2 separate regions of the Homo sapiens genome follow, and region 2 is linked to region 1. The links are contacts of gene promoters, found by promoter capture Hi-C in blood cells and fetal thymus (Javierre and others, 2016). All regions are on one chromosome and are shown on one strand. The core of a region is centred on a gene start or on the middle of the fragment in contact, and the rest is flanking DNA. Distances in the headings are between cores, read along the strand shown.

Evidence for each region. Contacts are between HindIII fragments. The CHiCAGO score rates a contact against its expected background, and 5 or more counts as called.
Region 2: a fragment that was not itself captured here is called in contact with the fragment with the promoter of ITGA1 in region 1 in 1 of 17 cell types (M1 macrophages); the score reaches 7.3 in M1 macrophages.

What each region holds. Positions count from the first base shown.
Region 1 is chr5:52,785,184-52,790,896 of GRCh38, forward strand. ITGA1 (integrin subunit alpha 1) reads left to right here and starts at 2,733. Exons shown (of 29, transcript NM_181501.2): 1 at 2,733-3,231. The coding sequence starts at 3,171. PELO (pelota mRNA surveillance and ribosome rescue factor) reads left to right here and starts at 2,733. Exons shown (of 3, transcript NM_015946.5): 1 at 2,733-3,231. It overlaps PELO-AS1 (PELO antisense RNA 1), which reads right to left. Exons shown (of 5, transcript NR_186455.1): 2 at 352-409. RefSeq lists an enhancer at 2,421-2,700. The HindIII fragment of the contact is 1,585 bases long and covers 2,374-3,958 here.
Region 2 is chr5:50,654,009-50,659,721 of GRCh38, forward strand. No RefSeq gene overlaps it. Among named protein-coding and RNA genes, the nearest start is that of PARP8, 9.8 kb to the right of the region's middle. The HindIII fragment of the contact is 2,329 bases long and covers 2,074-4,402 here.

The sequences.
Region 1 (5,713 bases), core at 1,483-3,982:
TTACTTACTCTAGTTACTTTACTCAGTATATTAGATTAACTCCAAGAAGAATACTTTGGTTTTAAGTATATGTTTTTCTTTTTGAGATTATTGGTTAATAATCTCAATTACTCTTGCCTCATTTCATAGACATCCACTTTCCAAATTCTTAATCAGTTCAGTCTCTAATCTTTCAGTGCAGCCATCCCCAACCGTTTTGGCAGAGAGACCGGTTTCATAGAAGGCATTTTTTCCACAGACCAGGGGTAGGGGAAACGGTTTCAAGATGATTCAAACACATTACATTCATTGTGCACTTTATTCCCATTATAATTATGTTATAATATATAATGAAGTAATTATAAAACTCACCATAATGTAGAATCAGTGGGAGCCCTCAGCCTGTTTTCCTGCAACTAGACGTTTTCATCTGGGGATGATGGGAGACAGTGACAGATCATCAGGCATTAGATTCTCATAAGAAGCGTGTGCAGTTCACAATAAGGTTCATGCTCCTACTCATGCTTCCAAACCCTTAAAGAGATCTGATCAAATCAAGTCTCATTTAAAATAGAAAAGTATGTAGTATAAAGTCTAGAGCTGAAACATTTGTCATCAAGTGTCTCATATCAATAACTAGTTTGTGACTCTGGGCAAGTTTCTGTCTTCTCTAAATCTTTACTCAATGACATGTCTTTCTGTCAGTCAGAATAAAATTGGTTAAGAAAATAACCGGCTTGACATTTATTTGTATTTGGGTTTATTGAAGTTCAGAAAATAAGCACTGATTCTAAAATTAATTCTCTAACCATAGTTATCTCTCAGTCTCTACATTTGTATTGACTAGACATATAAAAGATTCATAAATATGTAAACATGTAAACATAAAATTTGTAACTTGTGAAAATTAATTGTAACAATATCACTGTTAGTGATGGTTATCACCAATAATTTGTAAGTCCTAGAGGAAATAAAAATATTAAAATTGAAATTATATATTAGCCCCCAGAAGAAAGGTAAATTTCCCAGTAATTGTAAACTTGAACATATTATATGTTAACCCTACTTTATTTCAATATTTTACAATTTCTTTTTGTTTTTTCTAATGAAATATATTGCAATTTGCTAAAATGCCATATATGTATTTGCATATGTATGTATATGCTGTACATATATATGTACACATACATACATACACATGATTGTGTATATATAGACACACTATTATATGTTTTTGAAAACTAAGCAATTTGGAGAAATATCATTGGGAAAGTACTTACTATGATTTTTAAATGTCTACGAATTAATCAATATCTATTGGTTACTGTTCAAAGCACAGAGAGTCATACTGAGAGGCATAAGACATAACTGATACTACCAACAGGGAAACGAGATATACACAGGAAATGAATTCCTTGGCAGGGTATGAGAGCATTGAACACAAACAAAGGAACTTAAGTAAAGTCCAATGGGATTGAACTGTGACCCAACATAATACAATTTTTCTAGAGACTCATTTGTGTAAATTTGAAGACAGAACTGAGAAATGACATTATAAAAACTAAAAACGGGAGAACGAGATTTTTAATGTATTTACTAAATAGTGAATCAGTTCAGATACATAATAGAAAAGGAATTTCTTGATTAATGGGTCAACATACTGAGATCTGATGGCCTTCAACCTCCTTGGGTCTGCCCACCCCATTTTTGACGCTCCTTAAACTTCTTCAACTTTTGTCTTCTCCAGCTTTTAGTTGCTGTGATCCTCTATCTGGCAATGTATCCAGTGAACCCTGTGGGCTTCTTCCTTCCTGTCCCTCGTGTTACCTGTTCTGTGCTACCTGTGTTGCGTTCTGCTCAACGAACCCTCCTTTGGGTGGCACTCTTGTCCTGCCTAGCCCTAGTTCTGCTAGAGATGCTCAATTAGTTGTTGAGTTGAAGAATTGAATTGAACTGTTTCCCTCAGATTCCTCTAAACACAAATCCACTTATTCTTTCTGTCTTTGAAATTCTCAAAACCGCTAAGACACAGCTATTTTGAAAATAGCCAGCATTGGTTGAAGCTAGGGTGAATATGGCTTTTGACTCAGAGAGGTTGTTCAACTCACCAGGAAAGGGAAGCATTGCAAGTTCCTAAGCACTTCTGGACTCTTAATGCATTTTCACTCGTGAAAGTTTCAAGCAAGAAAAAAATAAAGTAGTGCCCCGAGTTCTTTATTAGATTCAATTACCAGCGTACAAACATCCTAATTCACTTAAACAAAATAGCCCACACACATTCCATTTCCAAGGAGGCTGCTTTTCTTCCTCTCTTCCCTTCTCGCTCTCCCTCTTACTGTTTTTCCTCCGTCTTGCTTCTCCTTTTCTCCCCTTATCCTAGTTATCTCAAAGAAAAGCTTATCTGCAACCACCCTTTAACCACGAATTACCATAAACGAAGCAACCCCCCCACCCCCCCATAAGCGAAAGCAAAGCCCTCAGTGGAGCCTGTCGGGGTGGTGGGGACGCCCCCTTTCGTGCAAAACGACTTCACGGTGAATTTCAAGTGTCCGCAGGGGATGGAAGGGGGGATTCCAGATCCTCGCATTTTCACAGACGGCCTAATCCCTCTGCGCAATGGACCCGGGAAAGCTGCCTCCCGTTAAGGGCGCCCAGGCACTGTCAAAGCGCCCTCCCTGCCCGGGCCGGGAGAAGTAAGGGGTGTGAAGGCGGAGCCACTGGGCTGGCAACACCCTCCCGAAGGTCCAGCCCTTACCCGCCTTCCTACCACCTTAGGGGATTTGGCCCGGAGAACGAGATCACCCTCTCAATGAAAGGCAGATGTCCCTTTAAGGTTTGCTTCTACAGCCCGTGGACTTTAGCCTAAACACGGACCCGCGAAGCTGGCTTTATTTGTCCATGTCTCGGACAGAGCCTGGGAAGCTGCCAGTGAGATTTCAGAGACCAAGAGCGCGAAGGGGCGGGCGATGTGGCAATCCGTCTGGGATGTGAAAAGCGTGGAGCGCATTTAGAGGAATTCGACGAAAACACAGGAAATCACTCCTCTCCCGCTCCTGGGCGCCGCTGCCACTGGGGCAGAGGACTGGGAACCGCGGCAGCGGGATAAGTGGCCCAGCCAGAGAGCGCAGCTCCCGCGCCCGGTCCTGCCCTGCGAACCAGCGCGGCCCCCTGGCGCTGAGGCTGCTCCGGCCATGGCCCCTCGGCCCCGCGCCCGCCCAGGGGTCGCTGTCGCCTGCTGCTGGCTCCTCACTGGTGAGCGACTCGCTTTTCTCTGAGCATCTCCTGCTCGCGGGCTTGGGGCTTGGAGCGGGGAGGGAGGTCCTCAGAGCCATGGGCCAGATAGGAAGAGAGAGCGCCCATCCACTTTCGGGCATTCCAGGTACTCAGGCCAGGCTACGGGGCAGGCAGGAGTTTCGCGTTCTGGTTTTGATATGAATTAGTTTTCGTGTCTCTCCAAAGTCCTTCACCCTAGGAGTAGGAGTGAGGCAGCACTGAAAACCTTAGAAGGTAGAATTCACTTTTAAAATTAAAGTTGTTTTTACAATACACATTGTATATTAGGACTTTGCTGAATATTTCCTCCCCTCCACCCTTTTTTATGGCATGGGATGGGAGGGTGATGCTTATAGGGCGCCTGATACATATGCAAAATTCCTACCCTCGGGTTGTTCCAGAGTGGACATTATTGAATTTTCTTGCTGTCTACTATTTAGGCTTTTTTCCCATGCAGAACAAGAAAAGGCAGGGATGCAAGACGAAACTGCCACTTGTTCCAAAATGATGTTTCTATGTCAGCACCCAAGAGGAGGGATATTTTGAAACGTAGAAAGGAATGGTGAACATTTTCTCTGTAAATATCACAGGGCAGTCTACTTTTAAGATGCAAAATATAGTATTGTTATTTGTACATAAATGTGTATTTTTAAGGAGGGGACTTAAAAACATAGTGGAAATGCAAAGTTGTATCCAATTTAGAAAAAGCTTGAAATATAGCATTTTGTAAGATTTTCCCAATAATGAACTCATGGTCAGATCTTTTTTACCAGTTACTGATTGGGGTGGGGGAAAGTTGAAATGGTGAAAAATGGAAGAAGGTGGGGGGAAAGTGTATCGATAGAATCTCTGTGTGAAAGAAAATCACCTTATTAATGGGTTAATTAACAGCTGGCTTTAACATATCATTGATATTCAATTGTTCAGTGTTTTTACTGCTGGCATGGTTATTAGTACTAGTTAATTTAGCATTTTTACCACTAAAAACAGGGTAGAGCCAGCTAGTTTAGACCTGCCTTAGATGGCCAAGCATTGTTAAGTTTTATGAAGATGATTTAGAAGTTGATTATCAGCAAGCAGAGCTTTTTTCAGAAGGGAGGTAATGTAAAGAGAGTTAATAATTAGCTACTGGCTTTTCATCCAAACATTTCCCACTACTCAGGAAATGTCCAATAATCCAAACAGTGGTAACTGCTGAACAGCATTATAGCCGGTGAGTGGTTTAACTTACCAGCTACTGCCACTACTTTTTACACATATTTGACCTATGATTCTTCTCCAACTCAAATTTTTTTAGATTGTATTTTGTTGTTTTTGTGCAAAATCTGAATACAGTAGTTTACTATCCAAGTTGTACTTTTTCATTCTACCAAATAAGCAGTCTCTAGAGTAGAAATGATGAAATGAGGTTTGCGTATCCTCTAAAAAGACAAGAGTGAAACTTGAAGTAACAGAGAAGTTTAACAAGTTACAATTTCATATATATGTTGGTGAAATATACATTGGTGAATCCAGGAAGAGACTTAAAATATTTAGAAACCTTGTGTGCACTATATTTATGCCCATTTCGCAACACATGAGGGATCTGAAATTGGACTGCTTTCCCATCAGTCATTATATTCTGTAGGCTCTTCTTTAGCAATCTCTTTCAGATTTGGAAACTTCTCATCAATTCAGAGTCCGTTTGTAACCTGGGGACTCATCACCATACTTATCCATGCACACTACTGTAGAGCTTATCTTTCTGTCTTCAATTTGAACCCAACTTCCAGTCTACCCTCCTAATACATCATTTTTACTATATCTGTTTTTAGTCAAAAATCTTTGGTGGTTCTTTGTTGCCTTTAAGATAAAATCCAAAATTCTCAACTGACTGCCCTAATCCAACACCCTCTCTCTATCTCCTACTACTCCTATGTCAGTTTCTTATTGCTGTTGTAACAACTTGCCATAGATCACCAGCTTAAAACAACATAAATTTACTATTGTACAGTTCTGTAGGTCAGAAGTATCACTGGGCTAGAATCAAGATGTCACCAGGGCTGCATTTCTTCTGGAGGTTCTAGGGGAAAATCAGTTTCCCTGTTTTCACCAGCCTCTGGCCACCACCTGCATTCTTGGCCTGTGGCCCCTTTCTCCATCTTCAACCGAGCAGGGTAGAATCTTCAGATCTTCCCCCATGACTCTGCTTTATCATCACATCTCCTTCTCAGACTCTGACCCTACTACCTTCCTAAGGATCCTTGTAATTACAATGTGCCTACCAGAATAATCTCCTCATCTCAAGATCTTTAATTTAATTACATCTTCCAAGTCCCTTTTACCATCTAAGATAACATATTCACAGGTTCCAGGCATTAGGTCATGGATATCTTTGGGAGACCATTATTCTGCCTACCACAACCCATAAGCATAAACTGTCCATTATAGCCAATCACTTTTCTTTACTTTCTCCATAATC
Region 2 (5,713 bases), core at 1,988-4,487, 2.1 Mb before region 1:
GTTTTTTTTGCTTATAGTTCTGCAGGCTGCACAAGAAGCATGGCCCAAGCATCTGCTTCTGGTGAAAGCCTCACGTGCTGCTGCATTCATGGTGGAAGGTGAAGGGGAGCTGCAGTGTGCAGATATCACATGGTGAAAGAGGAAGCAAGAAAGAGAAAGGGGGGAGGGGCCAGGTTCCTTTTAACAACCTGCTATTGTGGGAACTAATAGAGTGAGAACTCACTCTCCATCTCCGTCCAGAGAGTACATTACTCTACTCATGAGGGATCCACCCCCAAGACTCAAACGTCTCTCATTGGGGCCCACCTCCAACATTAGGGATAAAATTTCAACATGAGGTTTGGAGGGGACAAACATCCAAACTACAGCACTTACTATGCTTTTTTTTTTTTTTTTGAAACAGTCTTGCTTTGTTGCCCAGGCTGGAGTGGAGTGGCGTGATCTTGGCTCACTGCAACCTCTGTCTCCTGGGTTCAAGCAATTCTCCTGCCTCAGCCTCCTGAGTAGCTGGGATTACAGGCACATGCCACCATGCCTGGCTAATTTTTGTATTTTTGTAGAGATGGGGTTTCACCATGTTGGCCAGGCTGGTCTTGAATTCCTGACCTCATGTGATCCGCCTGCCTCGGCCTCCCAAAGTGCTGGGATTACAGCTGTGAGCCACCGCACCCAGCCTGTTTTGTAAATTCTTGAAGTATTTTGATTTGCACAAATTTGCCTATGACAGTTTCTTTCATGGATCACTCACTTTCATAAGAAGGAAGAAGAAAAATACATTTTTAATGGGTTTAAATTCACCAGGTTTTCCTACAAATGTTTTTCCATGGTAGTAACTAGGGATAGAAATATTCATTCCAATTCCTGGTTCTATTACTTTTTTTTTGTTAGTAATCTATAAGAAGTTTAAACAGATAGAGAAATTATTTTAAACACAGATTCCCCATGTGGGGCAGTCAAAAGGCCAAAGACCCAAGAGAAGAGAGCCAGATTCAAGGCAACTGAGATTAGCAACTGGGGAAAGAGAAGGCACTTTAACTGCTGTAATGTCAAGTAAGAAGTTTTCAAGAGCCCGTATACTGATAACACTTCAGGCTTTCATAAAAGCAAAACTCTAAATGGAAAACAACAAAGTGACTTTGAAAAGAGTGCTCCAATGCAGTTCCTTAATTCATCCAACTTGCATGTGCTGCTGTTGCTTTTACCATTTTATGAGTTACCATCTCAACAATCCTGGGAAGAACACTGCTCCTTTTGCAAACAGGTGAGGCACATCCTGTTCAAAAGCATTATAACTTTCTTTCTTTCTCTCTCTCTCCTTCCTTCTTTTCTTTCCTTCTTCCCTTCCCTTCCTTTTCTTTTCTTTCTTTCTTTTCTTTCTTTTTTCTTTTCTTTCTTTCTCTTTCTTTCTTTCTTTCTTTCTTTCTCTCTCTTTCTTTCTTGCCTTCTCTCTCTCTTCTTTCTCCTTCCCTCCCTCCTTCCTTCTTCCCTCCCTCCCTCCCTGGACTGACTTGACTTTCTTTCTTTCTCCCTTTTTCTTTTTCTTTTTTTTCTTTCTTTCTCTTTCCTTCCTTTCTCTCTCTTTCTTTCTTTCTCATTTTCTTTCCGTCTTTCTCTTTCTTTTCCTTCCTTCCTTCCTCCCCTCTCTCGCTCCCTGGACTTACTTTACTTTCTTTCTCCTTCCTTCTTCTTTTTCTCTCTTTTCTTTCCCTCCCTCTCTCCCTCCTCCCCTCCCTTCCTTCCTTCCTTTTTTCCTTCTTTCCTTCCTCCCTTCTCTCTTTCATGAATAAACTTTTCTCTATATATATTCATAGATTTGGAAGCAATGTGAAAATCTATTTGGTTCATGCCTCTGGTATTAAGCAGGACCACAGCTAAAATAACCTAGACAGAAAAGAAAAAATATGGCTAGGGCTGCCAACCTTTTTGTTGGAAGCTTGCTAATGTCAACATTACGGAGGCTGGTGTGCCAGGTGGTATGAGGAAATAGACTTGTACTATATAAAATATATGAGCTACTGGCACAGATTTAAAGTGGTGCTGCTGTTGTGGCCACACCTGGCCCTGATGGAATCAAGCTTAGATTGGGCCTGGCGTAGTTCTAGGGTAAACTATAGGATAAGATTGATTTGCTAGGACAGGTAATAACTTCCCTAGAACTGCAAGCATTTAATATAAAGTGACTATGCCACCTTCTGCCAAGTTTGCCATGCAAAACTATTGTTGAAGAATGCTAGCCAGCAGATATTCATCAAGTCATGTCATGCCTTCCCTTTCAAAATCTTTCAGTGGCTGAGAAATTTGGATTACTGTGCTTAATTTTTTTTTTCTTTTGAGACAGAGTCTCGCTCTGTCTCTCAGGCTGGAGTGCAGAGGCGCGATCTCAGTTTACTGGAACCTCTGCCTCCTAGGTTCAAGTGATTCTCCTGCCTCAGCCTCCCAAGTAGCTGGGACTACAGGCGCACCACCATATCCAGCTACTTTTTGTATTTTAAGTAGAGACGGGTTTTCGCCATGTTAGCCAGGCTTGTCTCGAACTCCTGACCTCAGGTGATCCACTTGCCTCGGCCTCCCAAAGTGCTAGGATTACAGGGGTGAGCCACTGTGCCCAGCCTGTGCTTAACACTGTCCCTTCATGATTTGATTTCCAGGTACCCTTACAGCAATATTCCTGTCGCCTTCATGCTTTTATATGGTGGCATGGCAAATATTTAATGGTCAGCTCTCTGGCAACAGAACAGAAGCCTTGCTTTGTACCGGCTCCAATTTCTGTGGTGTAAATACTCCCACCATGGCTGACATCCGCCTACCAATGTGAAATCCCTGAGTGTGAAGTTGGGAAGAGAAGTGCACAAGTGTTCTTGCAAGTTTATGTGAGCCAGCTCCAGCGCACCACTGTCTCTATGCCTCCCCACTACCTAGAATGTTCTTTACTTTCTCCACACCTAAATGTTCTTTACTTTCTCCACACCTACTCTTCCTTCCATACTCAGCAACTCTGACACCCTCAAACCTCCATCCCCAATTCAATCTGAGTTCTACGCCTCTTGTCTGTGTTCTATTTTGCACCTTGGAAGGTTTTGATCTTTCTTTCTTTTAACAAGTACGTATTGGGTGCTCTCTGTGTTTCACACATTAGCTTACGTCTGGGAGAAACACTGTTGAAGAGAGCAAATTACTCAGGCTTCAGGCACATTTGCTTAGCCTCTTACAAAGGCAGACAAGCAGTAAATGTGGTAAGTGCTATAACTGGGCTAAGAACAGAGGACGGGCACCGACATGGAGCATAGCCTGCAACTATAATTATTGCACTGAGAGAGTAAAATTAGAAGAAATCCAAACTGTGAGGAACAAAATCATCCTTTTTTTTAAATATGATTCACCCTCAAAAAGATGAGTGGCTATGCCAGATCCAGCCTAGGGAAATGCAGTGAATTGGTGTAGCAAAGGACTTTTAATCAGACTAGCAGTAGACCAATGAGAGATATTGCCTTCACCTTTCCCACGTGCTTCTCAACACAGAAATAGGTACTTGACTTGGGCTCAGCAAATCTTACTACCTCATCCACTTGGCAACAGTGCTTGTCCCAAAGATAGGCCCTTGATCCAAAGTGGGTAGCGAATGGTATCATTTTTATCCTGAGATTAATATTTAGAGTATGGAGAAAAAAAAGTTATCCTTCCCCCGCTGAGTTTACTAAACTGGAATGTCACAGATTTGGGATTACCAAATGACAATTTTCTCTGTTACTTAAAAGAAACTGCTGGCCAGGCAGGGTGGCTCACGCCTGTAATCCCAGCACTTTGGGAGGCCGAGGCGGGTGGATCACAAGATCAAGAGATTGAGATCATCCTGCCCAACACGGTGAAACCCCGTCTCTACTAACAATACAAAAATTAGCTGGGCATGGTGGCACGTGCCTGTACTCCCAGCTACTCGGGAGGCTGAGGCAGGAGAATCGCTTGAACCCAGGAGGTAGAGGTAGCAGTCAGCCGAGATTGTGCCATTGCACTCCAACCTGGTGACAGAGCAAGGCTCCATCTCAAAAAAAAAAAAAAAAAAAAAAAAAAGAAAGAAAAAAAAGAAAAAAGAAAACAAACTGCCAAACAGAAATGGAAAAGAGAAAAGTTCTGGTTGAGTTCCCCGTTCAATTGCCTGAGTCCCTGGGTCCTCCAGCTCTTGCTTTGTCTGCTAGGCCATCCAAGCATGCTTTACCATTGTACATTGTATCAGTCAAGAAACTGTATCTTGTCTTTGTTGGTTTGAGTTACAGTTATGTCATGCAACCAAATGTTTTCTGACAAATGCAGTGACCCTGGATGAGGCCTCAAGGAGGCAAGACTGGATTGTGACTGCCAATAAGAAAATGTACCCCTGGGAGGCACTTGTTCTGCTATTCCTTCAAGCTTCTCTCTCTGCCTTAAATCTGTCTGCATTCCCAGATGTCACCAAGCCCATGGGGCTTACAAATAGAAATAAGAGGAAGTCCCTATGCAGGGACTTACCATTTACTTGAAACAAATGAATCCAAAAAACGTGATAGAAAACTACCAGCTAAACTGGGGAAACAAAGGAGGAATTAGTCAATTGTATAGAAGGGTCAGGAGAGAATAAAAGTGGCTCCTTAATAATAATTAATTCTTTTTATTTATTTATTTATTTATTTTTTGAGACAGAGTCTCGCTCTGTCACCCAGGCTGGAGTGCAGTGGCACAGTCTTGGCTCACTGCAAGCTCCACTTCCCGGGTTCACTCCATTCTCTTGCCTCAGCCTCCCGGGTAGCTGGGACTACAGGCACCTGCCACCATGACCGGCTAATTTTTTGTATTTTTAGTAGAGACGGGGTTTCACCGTGTTAGCCAGGATGGTCTCGATCTCCTGACCTTGTGATCCGCCTGCCTCGGCCTCCCAAAGTGCTGGGCTTACAGGCGTGAGCCACCGTGCCTGGTCAATAATAATTAATTCTTATTAAGCAACTTAGATATTTCTTTTTGCCTGTGTTTATCTCATTTAATTCTCTTCTACAACTATAAAGAGATAGAAGCCTTTGTTCTCCTCATTCTTCAGATGAGAAAACTGAGATTTTATGTATTAAGAAATTGTGTAGCTTGCCCAAGTTCACATATCTAGGAGTTGCAGTCCATTTTACTCCAGTAAAAGTCAGAAGTTGAGTCTGTTTTACTCCAAATCCCAGTCTCCACAAGCCTTCTTGAGATAAGTGTTAAAATTGTTTGACACTTAATATCACAAAGAAAAATAATACAGAAGTTTCTACCTGAATTTTAAAAATATATTTTTGAAATTACATGGAATCCTGTTCCTAAGTAAGCACTGCAAAAATCAACCAACCAACTAAACAAACTCAAATGTTTAGTCAATTAAAACTTTGTGGGGCCAGGCACAGAGGCTCACACCTATAATTCCAGCCCTTTGGGAAGCAAAGGCAGGAGGATCACTTGAGCCCAGGAGTTTGAGAACAGCCTGGGCAACATAGTTGCACCCTGTCTCTACAAAAATTTTTTTTTTAAACTGGGCGTGGTGGCCTGTGCCTGTAGCTGTTTGGGAGGCTGAGGTGGGAAGATGACTTGAACCCAGGAGATAGAGGCTGCAGTGAGCCATGATTGTGCCACTGCACTCCAGCCTGGGTGACAGTATGAGACCCTGTCTCAAAAAGCAAAAACAAAAACAACATTTTGAAATGTCATAGTAGGCATA